Regions from separate parts of the Homo sapiens genome. Here all the other regions are linked to region 3. Evidence: promoter capture Hi-C in 16 types of primary human blood cells and fetal thymus (Javierre and others, 2016). All regions are on one chromosome and are shown on one strand. Each heading gives the region's core, a stretch centred on a gene start or on the middle of the fragment in contact. The rest is flanking DNA. Distances are from core to core; before and after follow the strand shown. Region 1 has its middle 100 kb from the start of DYNAP. Region 2 has its middle 84 kb from the start of DYNAP. Region 3 holds the start of RAB27B (RAB27B, member RAS oncogene family).

Region 1 (3,795 bases), core at 609-3,108, 140 kb after region 3:
ATCCCTATGTACAAACTCAACTAGAAATGAGCATGAAGAAATGAGAAGAATTACATGAAGAAATTCATGAAGAAAAGTATTGATCTTTATTAAAGGACATAAAAGAAGACCCAATTAAAACAGACAGTGAGAGAGAAATAGAGAGAGACTAACTTCCTGTATTGAAAGAATTTAACATTATAGGGATAAGTTTCACTAAATTCATCTATAAACATAAGGCCAATGAATATGACATTACCAAAAGTATTTTTATGAGAATTAAAAGCTGATTTGGAAAAGAATAATTAGCTTTCCCTTGCTAATTCTCTATTAAATATCAAACCACACCATAAAACTAGAATAACTTGTAAAAGTGTGGCATTGATGCATAATCTACAAATTTCACAGTGGAACAACTCAGCATGAAAAGAAAGATATATATGAAAACATAATATGGAAATATTATTTATGACAAAGGTAGAATTTAAAATCAGTAGAAAAATGACAGACTAAGGAATAGTGTGGGTACAATTGGCTATCCATTTAGGGAAAAGATATCAGATATCTATGTCATACCAGGCACAAAAATAAATCCAAATAGATTAAGTAAATAAAAACCTAGAAATGAATACAAAGAAACTATAATGGATTATCTTTATAATCTAAAGAGTTTTTCTAAGCAATACACTAAACACAGAAACTGTAAGATTGATAAATAAAAATTTTAAATACATACAAATTTAAATGAAAACTATAAATCAGAGCAAAGATTGACCTCCATAATTAATACAGAACAGTATCAAATTAAAGAAAGTAAAAACAGGTCACCTAATAGAAAAATGGTCAAATTACATGAACAGCAAATTTTCAAAAGAGGAGGTAATAAGATAAATTAAAAGATGCTCAACCTCATTATAAATCTGGGCCATTCTAACTGAAATGAACTAAAATCATGTTTTGTGTATCACACTGTCCAAAATTCAAAAGATTAATTACATTTTTAAGTAACAAGAGAGTGAGATTAATTATGTTTTTAAGTAACAAGAGAATGGGGATACTCACTCTCATACTTTATTTGTGGCACCCTAGTGACACTCCAGAAGGTTTCTCCTGTTTCCTTCCAAAGAGAAACACTCTCCACCCCTCCCCACTACGGGAGGTAATCATTATCCTGACACCTACAACTAATATTATTTTTGCCTATGTTGTTATTTTATATAAAAGGAATCATATACTGTAATTTTTTTGTACCTGGCTCCTTTGCTCAATATTATGATTTTGAGTCACTATTATTGCAGTTTCAGATTTTTCAGTCTCATTGCTTTCTACTAGATGTGCATACCAGAATGTATTGTCCACTCTATTGTTGATGGTCATTTGGGTAGAGCTGCACTGATCACTCTTCTACGTCTTTTGGTGAGTGAACATAGGTATACGTTTCTGCTAGGGAAACACCCAGAAGTGGACCTACTGGCTACAAGCTTTTCATGTATTCTTCTTGAGAAAGATGTTGCCAAGCATGTTTCAAAAGTGGTTTTTGTCAATTTCCACTTCTACTTGTGGTGGATGGAGTTCAGTTTACTCTACATTCTTGCTGACACTCGGTATTATCTGCCTTTTTCCTTTGCCCGTTTTGGTGGTTACTTGATGGCATCCTGTGGTTTAGCTTGCATTTAAAAAAAATAACTAATAAAGTTGAGCACCTTTTTACAGATTTAAAGGACATTTAAATATCCTCTTTTATGGAGTATCTGTTCAAGTCTTTTGTCCATGTTTCTATCAGGGTTTTTTGTTTTTATTTATATTTTTTCAAATATATATATACATACACATATATATTATATATTATATATACCTATATATTATAAGCAATATATAAACATATCAACATATATATATATATATAAAAATCTGCTTTCATTTTTTGGGTTGCTTTTCCTAACTTTTTAAAGATATTGTTTGGAGAAGTTTTTTTATTTTAATGTAATTCATTTATCTTTTTTTCTTTCATGCTTAATGCTTTTGGTGCCCTGATTAAGAAACCTGTCGACTCCAAGGTGACAAAGATGTTCTATGATGTTTTGTCTTATCTAATCTTTGAAAAGCAATACAAATATAAAAGATTAGTAAAATGTCAGATGTAGTAAAATGGTAAAAACACCAGAAAATGAGAACATTAACCATCTATAAAATTTCATCAGGAAAGTCAGTGCTTTCTTACGACATGATATTACCAGGAGGAGATTTATCACTCCCAGCTAACATTATAAAGCTTAATTCCACTTCAACATTTATAAATGAAATCCATCATCACTTGACTATAAGACTGATAACTACAGTGAATAGGCATACACAGAAGGCATAGGTGAATGCATTGGAAAAATAATAGCTTAGAGTATCTTCAGATTAGCATTCATTATCCTGACAACTAAAGAAAGAGACATGCCCATCACTGTACAGAATACAAAAACAGGACTTAAAAGATACAATCTGCCTTCAGTGTTAAATTGAAAATGGTTATTGGATTTAGCCAGCACAAACTGGAAAGCTCATTCTCTATCTTACTTTAAATGCTCTTTATTTTCTCTCTTTAAAAAATAAATTTCCTTTTCCTCATTTTCTTGCATTAGCAAAAGGAATATGCTAAAGATGAACTTTACTGAATGAAATCAAGGTTGTTTTTTTTCTTGTTCTCTTCGTTCTTTTCTTCCTAATACTTCGTGATATTTTTGTTTAGAGTTTCACAGATTTATAGAGCTCAAAGAGATTGTAAAATTTTACCCTATCCATCCTTCAAAAACATCTAAGCCATATGAAAACCAACCCTGTCGGTATGACAATTTGCCAAGCCTTCAGCTATAGGGAACATAATCATCTGGTTCTGTTTTTATTTTGACTAAATAAAATGTGAAGACTATAAACAGTACTTAAAAATCACTGAAATAAACTAGGAAAATTGATTCATTCTATGTCAGTTTTTTTAATAATTCTTTTTACTACTCAATGTATTAAATTATGATTGTAAAGTGTTAAAAGATTAAATATGTTTAGTGTCTTAATGAAGAAAGTGGGTTACATTATTCTCCTAAGGGTTTGGAAAGAAATTATATTGAGTTGCTTGATTTCCTATGTATAATATTTCTTGTATTTATCTTCCTTTTTTAAAAAAAAAACACTTTTCCACTTATTTGCTATTGAAATAGCTCCTAACTATTCTTTCCTTTAGTCTCCTAAACCTCCAATCTACCCTATGTATTTTCAACTTCCTCTTAATGTACCCATTTTTTGTGTTGTTTCCTTTTGCTCATTAACCATCAGTGGCTCCCCATTATTGGGGAGCTAAAACTTTAAATGTCACAATCTGGCATCTAAGGTCTTTTAAAAAATGGTGTGAACCTACTTTCCTAACCAATGCTTATAACATTCCTTTACACAAAACCTAATGACTACTGGTCTTCAAACATCACAAACATAAATATTCCCACTTTGCACCTGTATTCAAATAATTTCCTCTCAGTCTCAAATGCTCTTTTTTTAAGAGGAGACTTGTCCCCTTTTCTCTAAGTGAAATAATAGATCTGGTGGAATTTCACCTGAGGGAGGTCATGGTCCTGGTTGATAAGCTCCAACGATGGAATAGAAGGCCACCTGGGGTTGCTGGAAAGGCAGTCTGAACCTATAGGGATTTAGTTGTAGACAAATGGGCAAATTCTTGCTCTTTCTCTGAACCCTATTTATGAGAATGTATGCTGGTTCTGAAGCCCAAGATAATATAAATGCATGAAGTTTCTCACCTTTAGATAAAGGCCAGAAAAC
Region 2 (3,641 bases), core at 98-2,597, 150 kb after region 3:
GGCATGTGGTGCATGCCAGTAGTCCCAGTTACTTGGGAGGGTGAGGCAGGAGAATCACTTGAACCTGGGAGGTGCAGGTTGCAGGTTTCAGTCAGCCAAGATGGACCACTGCACTCCAGCCTGGGAGACAGAGCAAGACTTTGTCTCAAAAAAAAAAAAAAAAAGCTTTCTGTACATTGCTTAGAGGGTGAGGCTGTTGACTGTGGATTTTACCATTAGATGATCAGAAAGAAAACCCCTAGTGTCTGTAACTATGGATCTTTTCTTTTGGGCAACTCAGAAAATTAAACTCTCCTATCCTGGTGTAAGGTATAAGGTATGGATGCAGCTTCCCCCCTCCCCAGATTGCTGTTAAATAGAGATGCTGTTTATTAAGTATAGTTCACATTTTGCTTATTGGTATAAGATCCCATCTTTATTACTGAACTCTTATATTGAGGGGAGGGAATCTCTTTCTAGATTGTATATGCTTTCGCATGGGTCTCTGTCTGCCAGTACCACACTGTTTTAATTATTAGTTCTTGATAGTATGTTTTATTACCTGGTTTATTACTCTTGATTGCTCTACTTTTTCAGAATGTATAAAAAACATTTGGACATTTGACACTTAGAGGAAATAAGGCCCTTTCCCAGAGTAACTCAGATAATAAGTGGCAGAACTGTCATTGGAACCTCTCTCATAATCACCACCTTTCATTGACTGAAATGCCTTTGTTAAAATATCTACTTATCTCCTTTGGAAAAAAATTCAGAGGAAGAGATATTTCTTCCTCTTTCAAATGCCTCAAAACTCAAATTTCCTTTGGGAACCCCTGAGGACCTAGGTCATGTGTCCACTGAGGCTCATGGCCAACTCTCTAGGAATAGCTGGAAGGTGGAGAAACATAGCGGGAAAGAGAGCTCATGTCTCCACATCCAATGAGCAAAGCTAGTAGCAGAGTCTGCTGATACTTTACTTTTTAGTGTATATTTCAGGAAGTGTTCTTACAGGCATGTTCCTTTTCTAGTGGGGTCACAAATACCAAATAGTTATGTCTTCTTAAAAAGTCATTAATTTTCAGAAAATTTGTCTAAACCTAGTAATAAAAATATATCACTTTTATTTCAATTTCTATATATTTAACTATGAGGTCAAGTATCTTACCCTCTGTTTTTATTCATTACATAGACTTCTTCTGTGACAAGCACATCAATGTCCTTTGTTACTCTTTCTTAGTGTGTGCCTATAAAAATCTTATTAATTTGTAAGTACTCATTATATGTAAGCAATATTTAAAATTTTTTTCTATGTGTTGAAAATATTTTTTTCCCGGTTTGTTGTTGACTTTGGTTTATTGTGTCTTTTCCATGTGAAAATGGAAAGACTTTCATGGATTAACATTTACTAATATTTATCTTTATAAGTCTTAGTTTTGGTATGAGAGATACAGTATGCGTGTATAAATAGGAATTCAATTTTGTCTCTAATTTTTAATGAAGTAGCATAACATAATATGCTAGGTGTATTTTTTTAAATTTAGATCTCTCTCAAAATACTTGTTATACACCATATCAGTTAAAGTACTTAGAAACTGCTCATCATATTTCACTTTAGTTCTTTCCTTGAATGTATACCTAGGTGAATTCTGGCAGAGATAAATTTGGGGCAGAGCCTAGGATCTAAAGAATGTGAAAAAAGTTCCCTATGTCCGAAGGGAAAATCAGCAAAAGGTAAAAGCAAACAAAAAAATGAAGTGTAGGAATAGAGGATTTAAAATGTTATCCTCTTTTGCTTTCTCAGATGGCCTTGTTTGTGTGAAGCACAAAAGCAGCCCCTGTGTGTGACTAATGAATCTTCCAAGGCATTCTGGGGACTGTGTTGTCAGCCCTTTTAATGGCCTATTAAGCACAGGATTGAATAGATTAAGCATGCAGCCGTCCAAATTAGACCTTGAGTAATCTGACTGACCATGTTAGGCCTTGTGTGACACAGCATCCCTTAGGCTGATGTTAAGGACTCAGACAAGGTGAGAAAAGTCTGTGCTCTAGAAACACAGTCCTTCCCAGGACAAAATAAGCCAACAAATATGGAAGGCAAAGTTTAGTTGGATGGAGAGTGTCATAGAACAAGTACTTCACTCAAAGCTCAATTCTGCTTGTTAATAACAATGTGACCTTGGACAAGTTATTTTTCTTTTCTTTTTTTTCTTTTTTTTTTTGAGACAGAGTTTCACTCTTTCACCCAGGCTGGATTGCAATGGCACAATCTTGGTTCACTGCAACCTCTGCCTCCCGGGTTCAAGTGATTCATAAATTACCCAGACTCAGGTAGTTCCTTTCAGCAATGAGAGAATGGACTAATACAGGCTCCTTCATGAGCTTCTCTTCCTGTCTCCTTTTCATGTTTCATAATCTCGAGGCCTCGCCATTCTCTTATCCATTCAAAATTACTTTTGAGTGCTTACTTTGTGTAAGACACTATGCCATGGGCTACTAGACTAGTACACTGTTGAATAAAACATGTGTTTTGCTCTTAAAAAAAAAGCTTATAGGTTAATTAGAGAGAAGATAATAAAAGTTAATATTTATTGGGCAATTATTCTGTGCTAGATGCTTAATTCTCATTAATTCCCACAGCTACTCTGAGGGCTACATTCTCTCTTTATCCCCATTTTACAGGTGAGACAAAGTCAGGCAACATGTCCAAAGTCACATAACCTGCAAGTGTCTGAGCAAAGATTCAAACCCAAATATCTATGAATTCAGAGCCCAAGTTTTTTAATCAGACTTAAACACTATGCTATATTAAAAAGTAATTATACTGTGGTATAATATAACTAGAATGTGGTGAATGACATATGAAGTACGAACAGATTTGCATGGACATTTAGAGGAAGGAGTGGCCACTTTTGGCTGCAAGAATCAGAGAAGACATGGTGTAGGAGAGATTGGAGATGTATCTTTAAAAGCCATATTAGTCTATGCTCTGCCAAGATTATTATTATTTTCAGCAGAAATGCTTTCAAGTGAGACTGGGAGCCCATCCAATGACAAACCAACATGAGTAAAACACAGCCTTAGAAGTAAAGAGCCCACTGCTGTGAAATCAATGCTCTTGACTTAGACCTCCAAATGCCAAGCCTAGGAAGTGGAAATTTTCCACAAAGAAGCAAACACTATTTCACCCTTGGCTAACCACGGGCCAATCTGTAAGCGCTTCCAACATTTTAGTTGGGAGGATGAAACTCTGTGTATGCTGGTGTGATAGCCCAGCAACTGTGTGAACAAAGACAAGGATTGCTCTTGGTGCCACCCAAAATAATCTCTTTGAAGCCAGGATTCCCTACAGGTCAGTGGTCCCCAACCTTTTTGGCACCAGGGACCAGTTTCATAGAAGACAAATTTTCCACTGATGGGAGGGTGGTAGGATGGTTTCGGGATGATTCAAGCCCATTACATTTATCATTAGATTCTCATAAGGAGGGTGCAACCTATATCACTCACATGCACAGTTCACAATAGGGTTCACACTCCTATGAGACTCTAATGCCACTACTGATCTGACAGGAGGCAGAGCTGAGCTTTGGTTGCTTAACCGTGGCTCACCTCCTGCTGTGCGGCCCAGTTCCTACCAGGCCATGAACTGTCAGGGGTTGAGGAGT
Region 3 (3,784 bases), core at 1,254-3,753:
AACACTCTTACCAAATATTTGTTGAACAAATGAACAAGCAACTTAATTATCTCAATATATTGAGCAGTTGTTTAGTTAAAAAGACAAAATTTATTTAAGATTTTTTTGGCCATTTGATAAACAGAGTGTTACTCTCCTTATTGGCAATCTAGACAAGTTTGTCTTATTTAAGGAGTGCCAATGGGAGGTTAATATTTGGAGAACATGAATAATGATTGCAAAGGGTGTGAAAGAAATTGAGTAATACTATCAACTCCATATTTGGGGTTTACAATAGGTATGTTATTATGCATAGTGATGTTGCTGCTTGCTACTTCTATAGTATATACTTAAGCCCATATATACCTAATAATGAATTTAAAAAAAAAATCATTCCCATTTGGCAGCCATCTTTAGAAAGTGACATATTCTTCATGGGAAACACCTGATTTGTCCTGTCTGTTTTTATTGAAATCATTTCCTTGCATCTCAACATTACAATTACTTGCTTAAGAGCTGAACTATTGGTCAACCTGCCTTGATGAATCAACTGAAGAAACTGGATTGTGAGATGAGTTTTATATGAGTAATTGTTCTATATTTCATGCCGTACTGATCTGAGAGCCCAAAAACCTAACCAAAAATTTGCAGGAGTGAGGGTGGGAAAAGAGCAGGTTTCTATTCTGAACTACCTGGACATTTGGATAACTTCCATTTTTCCAGAAAAACAGTGAAATAAATGAACAGCAATTCTGAAACCAACATACAGTTGTAGTGTAAACTGGCATACCAACTGATCTTCTACCAAGAAGATCAATTATATTAGGGTTACCTTCCCTATTGGGTCAAACATGCCTGTTCCAGAAATGACCTATGAGAAAGGGGAACTGTGGTTTGCTTACATTCAACAGATTCCCTTTATCCCTTCTTGGCAACTATGAGAACAGGCTCATCCAGTTTTATCTGCTATGTTTTGTTTTCCTTTCGAAAGCAATGACAGTAACACTGTATGAGAGGCCATAGTCAATTCTGAAACAGAAAAGCTCCATTAATATTAAACTATCTGTCAAGATTACCCCTTTTTGGTCATTGGTAGGAATCACCTCTTGCCTTCAAGGATGGCTGACCCCATCTGGGTAGAGGATTATGCTAGGAAACTATGAAAAATAACTATTTGAGGGGCAATGGCACATGACAGGTATGTCTCTCTCTTCATCACTGCAATATGGACTTTACAGCAGCTTGAAAATTCATTAAACTTAAATATCTGAGTTTATATTAATGCTTAAGTCTATCCTTTCCCTCAACTTTTCAAAATTTATAACCATAAAACCCTGTATATTCTATATATGAATGAATATGTGTGAATATAACTAAATATTGAGAACTGTAGACATTTTTCTTATAAACAGAACAAAATCAAAATTCAGAGCTGTATTATATTAAACAATAATTTTGTTGTTAATAACCTTGAAATTTATGTTATTACTTTGGGCTTAATTTAATGATGTGCAGTTTAAAACAACTGGAATTACATACCCTTAGCTTTACATCTTGACATAAAAAACTCACAAAACATGATACAGGTGTGAAGGCTCTAACCAAACACAGCTTTTTCCTAGGAATGCAGTCTCTGCTTACAGTTCACCTACTTCAGTAGTTTTCAGAGGCTTAATTAATGTTGCATTGGGTGGGAAAGTCTTGAAAGCTAATTTATTGTGATCAGTTGGGTGAACACACATGCACACATATACCCTAGTTGGTGCAACACTTAGATCAGAATTCGAAAGTAACAGAGCAAAAAATTGGAAAACAGAAAGTACTCTTAAGGTCTCTGTGGCTATTTCATCTAAGGAAGTGCATATAAATGTCTTATTGCTCTCCTGGCTTGCCTCACTAAGTCGCTCCTCCTGGAATGAAACTCTGAGCACATCATCATCCATGCTTTTTCTTATTCATTATTTTGATTGTTTTTTGAGATGCAAATGAAAGGAAATTGGCATTGCTGTGCCTAGGCTTTTTGTTTTTCTTTTTGCTTTTTTTGGTGGTAACCAGCTGTTTGATAAGCAAACACTCAAGGAGAGCCAGGTCGAGTTGGCCCATGCCATCCGTGCAGCACACAGCACTACTGTCTTCTTTGCAAGGATTTCTGCTGGAAACCGCGATCGAAGGTGCACACGCACTCACACATGCACACACACACACACAGAGGCCTCACTTCCCACGGCGCAGGCCGGCGCTGCAGCACCCGGGTGGGTGGGAACGCGTTCCAGCAGCAGCAGCCCGCCTTCCCAACTCACCAGCCTGCGAAGTTTCCTTGCCGGGAGAGCAGGTGTCAGATTTCAGAGAGGTTTCCTTCCCCTTCCCAAGCCCTGGAACTCCCGGGCTCCACCGTCAGCAAGGAGACAGGATCTGCTCCACAGGGCGATGAGCACGGGGACAGCTACTTATCTCCTCCAACCTGTGGCTCCGGATGGGTCCAAGGCCGGGCGGTCCGCAGCCCCTGCCCGTCAGGACTGCGAGTGGCAGGGCTGGTGGCACCACCCTCGGAGTCCGCCGCGGCGGCGGGGCTGGGTAAGGTTTGTGTGAGAAGAAGGCGTGTCTGCAAGTCCCAACGCGGATGTGCGGAGCTCACCTCAGGCAAGTCTTGCTGGTGACTCAACTGCTGCAGTGAGAAACACACTCCTCTCGGGGATGAAGTCTCCACACTGTGGGGCTTCTAGCCTTACCAGCGAGCTCATTTTTATTCATTTTTGTTCTGTGTTTTCTTTGATGTCTCTCATTCAAAGAGCCCAGGGCGCTGTGAGAACTGGGGCCCTGACATTGCGTTCTCTCCTCCGAGGGGGTGTCTCATTAACTATGAGGAGTGAAGGCGAGGGATTGCGAGTGGGGAGCAGAGGATGGCCTCGGGAAATAAAAGAGGGCGTTGGAAAGAAATTAATATTTTAAAAGTTAGGATGTGTTCGTATGAATGCATTAATCAGTATGCAACATCCAAATTCACTTCCCAAAGCCCTAATTCACTTCCTAAAGTCACTTCAGAGATCAATAGGTTACCACTAAGTAAGATAATGAGCACACGGAGGCATTGAACCAGTATTTGTTAAGCACCTACTATGTGCTATGCCGTGTTCTAAACACATTAGATTCGTCCACAAAGCAAAGATCCTGGCTGCCCATCTTGGGATTCCATTTTAGACACATTCAGACATCCCTAATTTACAGACTGGTAGTAAAGGTAAGAATACAAGGTTAGGTACATTATAATAACAACCGATTTACTCCTCTGTGAACAAAATTTAAAAGTTCCAAACCTGTGTCTTGCATTCATGTTAGTAAACAACGAGATGCCAATGACTGCTTGAATTTTAATTACTTAACTTGTTTCTTATTCGATGCCCTAGAGACAATCTGGGAGGCACTGCTGTTATCAGCTCCCAGAGAATTTCTTGTAGAAGGGAGCAAAGGAATAGCCCAAACCAAAACACAAAACAAACAATAGCAAACTAGTGGAAAAATGGAATATTAGAGAAAACATTTTGGTCTCATAGAAATCTGTCTATTCTATTATGAAACTATTAAAGAAGTTCTATTTTATGTCCTTCAATGTTCTTGAAAGTTGAAAAGAAGAGTAATAATAATGTCTTCATAGTGTTATTGTGAAGAATTGACTTCATATCAGTAATGTGTGTAGAACGTGCCTGGCACAGTAAGTTCTATGAATGTGTTGGCTATACTTATAATTTTGGTAACAATCTATTCCATTCTCCCCAAGTAAGATCCAGTTCCTAAAAATTATTTTGGA

Evidence for each region. The method cuts DNA at HindIII sites, captures the fragments that hold promoters and counts their contacts. A CHiCAGO score of 5 or more calls a contact.
Region 1: a contact is called between a fragment that was not itself captured here and the fragment with the promoter of RAB27B in region 3, in 1 of 17 cell types (megakaryocytes). The highest score is 12.0, in megakaryocytes.
Region 2: a fragment that was not itself captured here is called in contact with the fragment with the promoter of RAB27B in region 3 in 1 of 17 cell types (megakaryocytes); the score reaches 7.2 in megakaryocytes.

What each region holds. Positions count from the first base shown.
Region 1 is chr18:54,691,265-54,695,059 of GRCh38, reverse strand. No RefSeq gene overlaps it. Among named protein-coding and RNA genes, the nearest start is that of DYNAP, 100 kb to the right of the region's middle. The HindIII fragment of the contact is 791 bases long and covers 1,463-2,253 here.
Region 2 is chr18:54,673,541-54,677,181 of GRCh38, reverse strand. No RefSeq gene overlaps it. Among named protein-coding and RNA genes, the nearest start is that of DYNAP, 84 kb to the right of the region's middle. The HindIII fragment of the contact is 2,359 bases long and covers 168-2,526 here.
Region 3 is chr18:54,827,196-54,830,979 of GRCh38, reverse strand. RAB27B (RAB27B, member RAS oncogene family) reads right to left here and starts at 2,503. Exons shown (of 6, transcript NM_004163.4): 1 at 2,280-2,503. The HindIII fragment of the contact is 8,053 bases long and covers 1-3,784 here.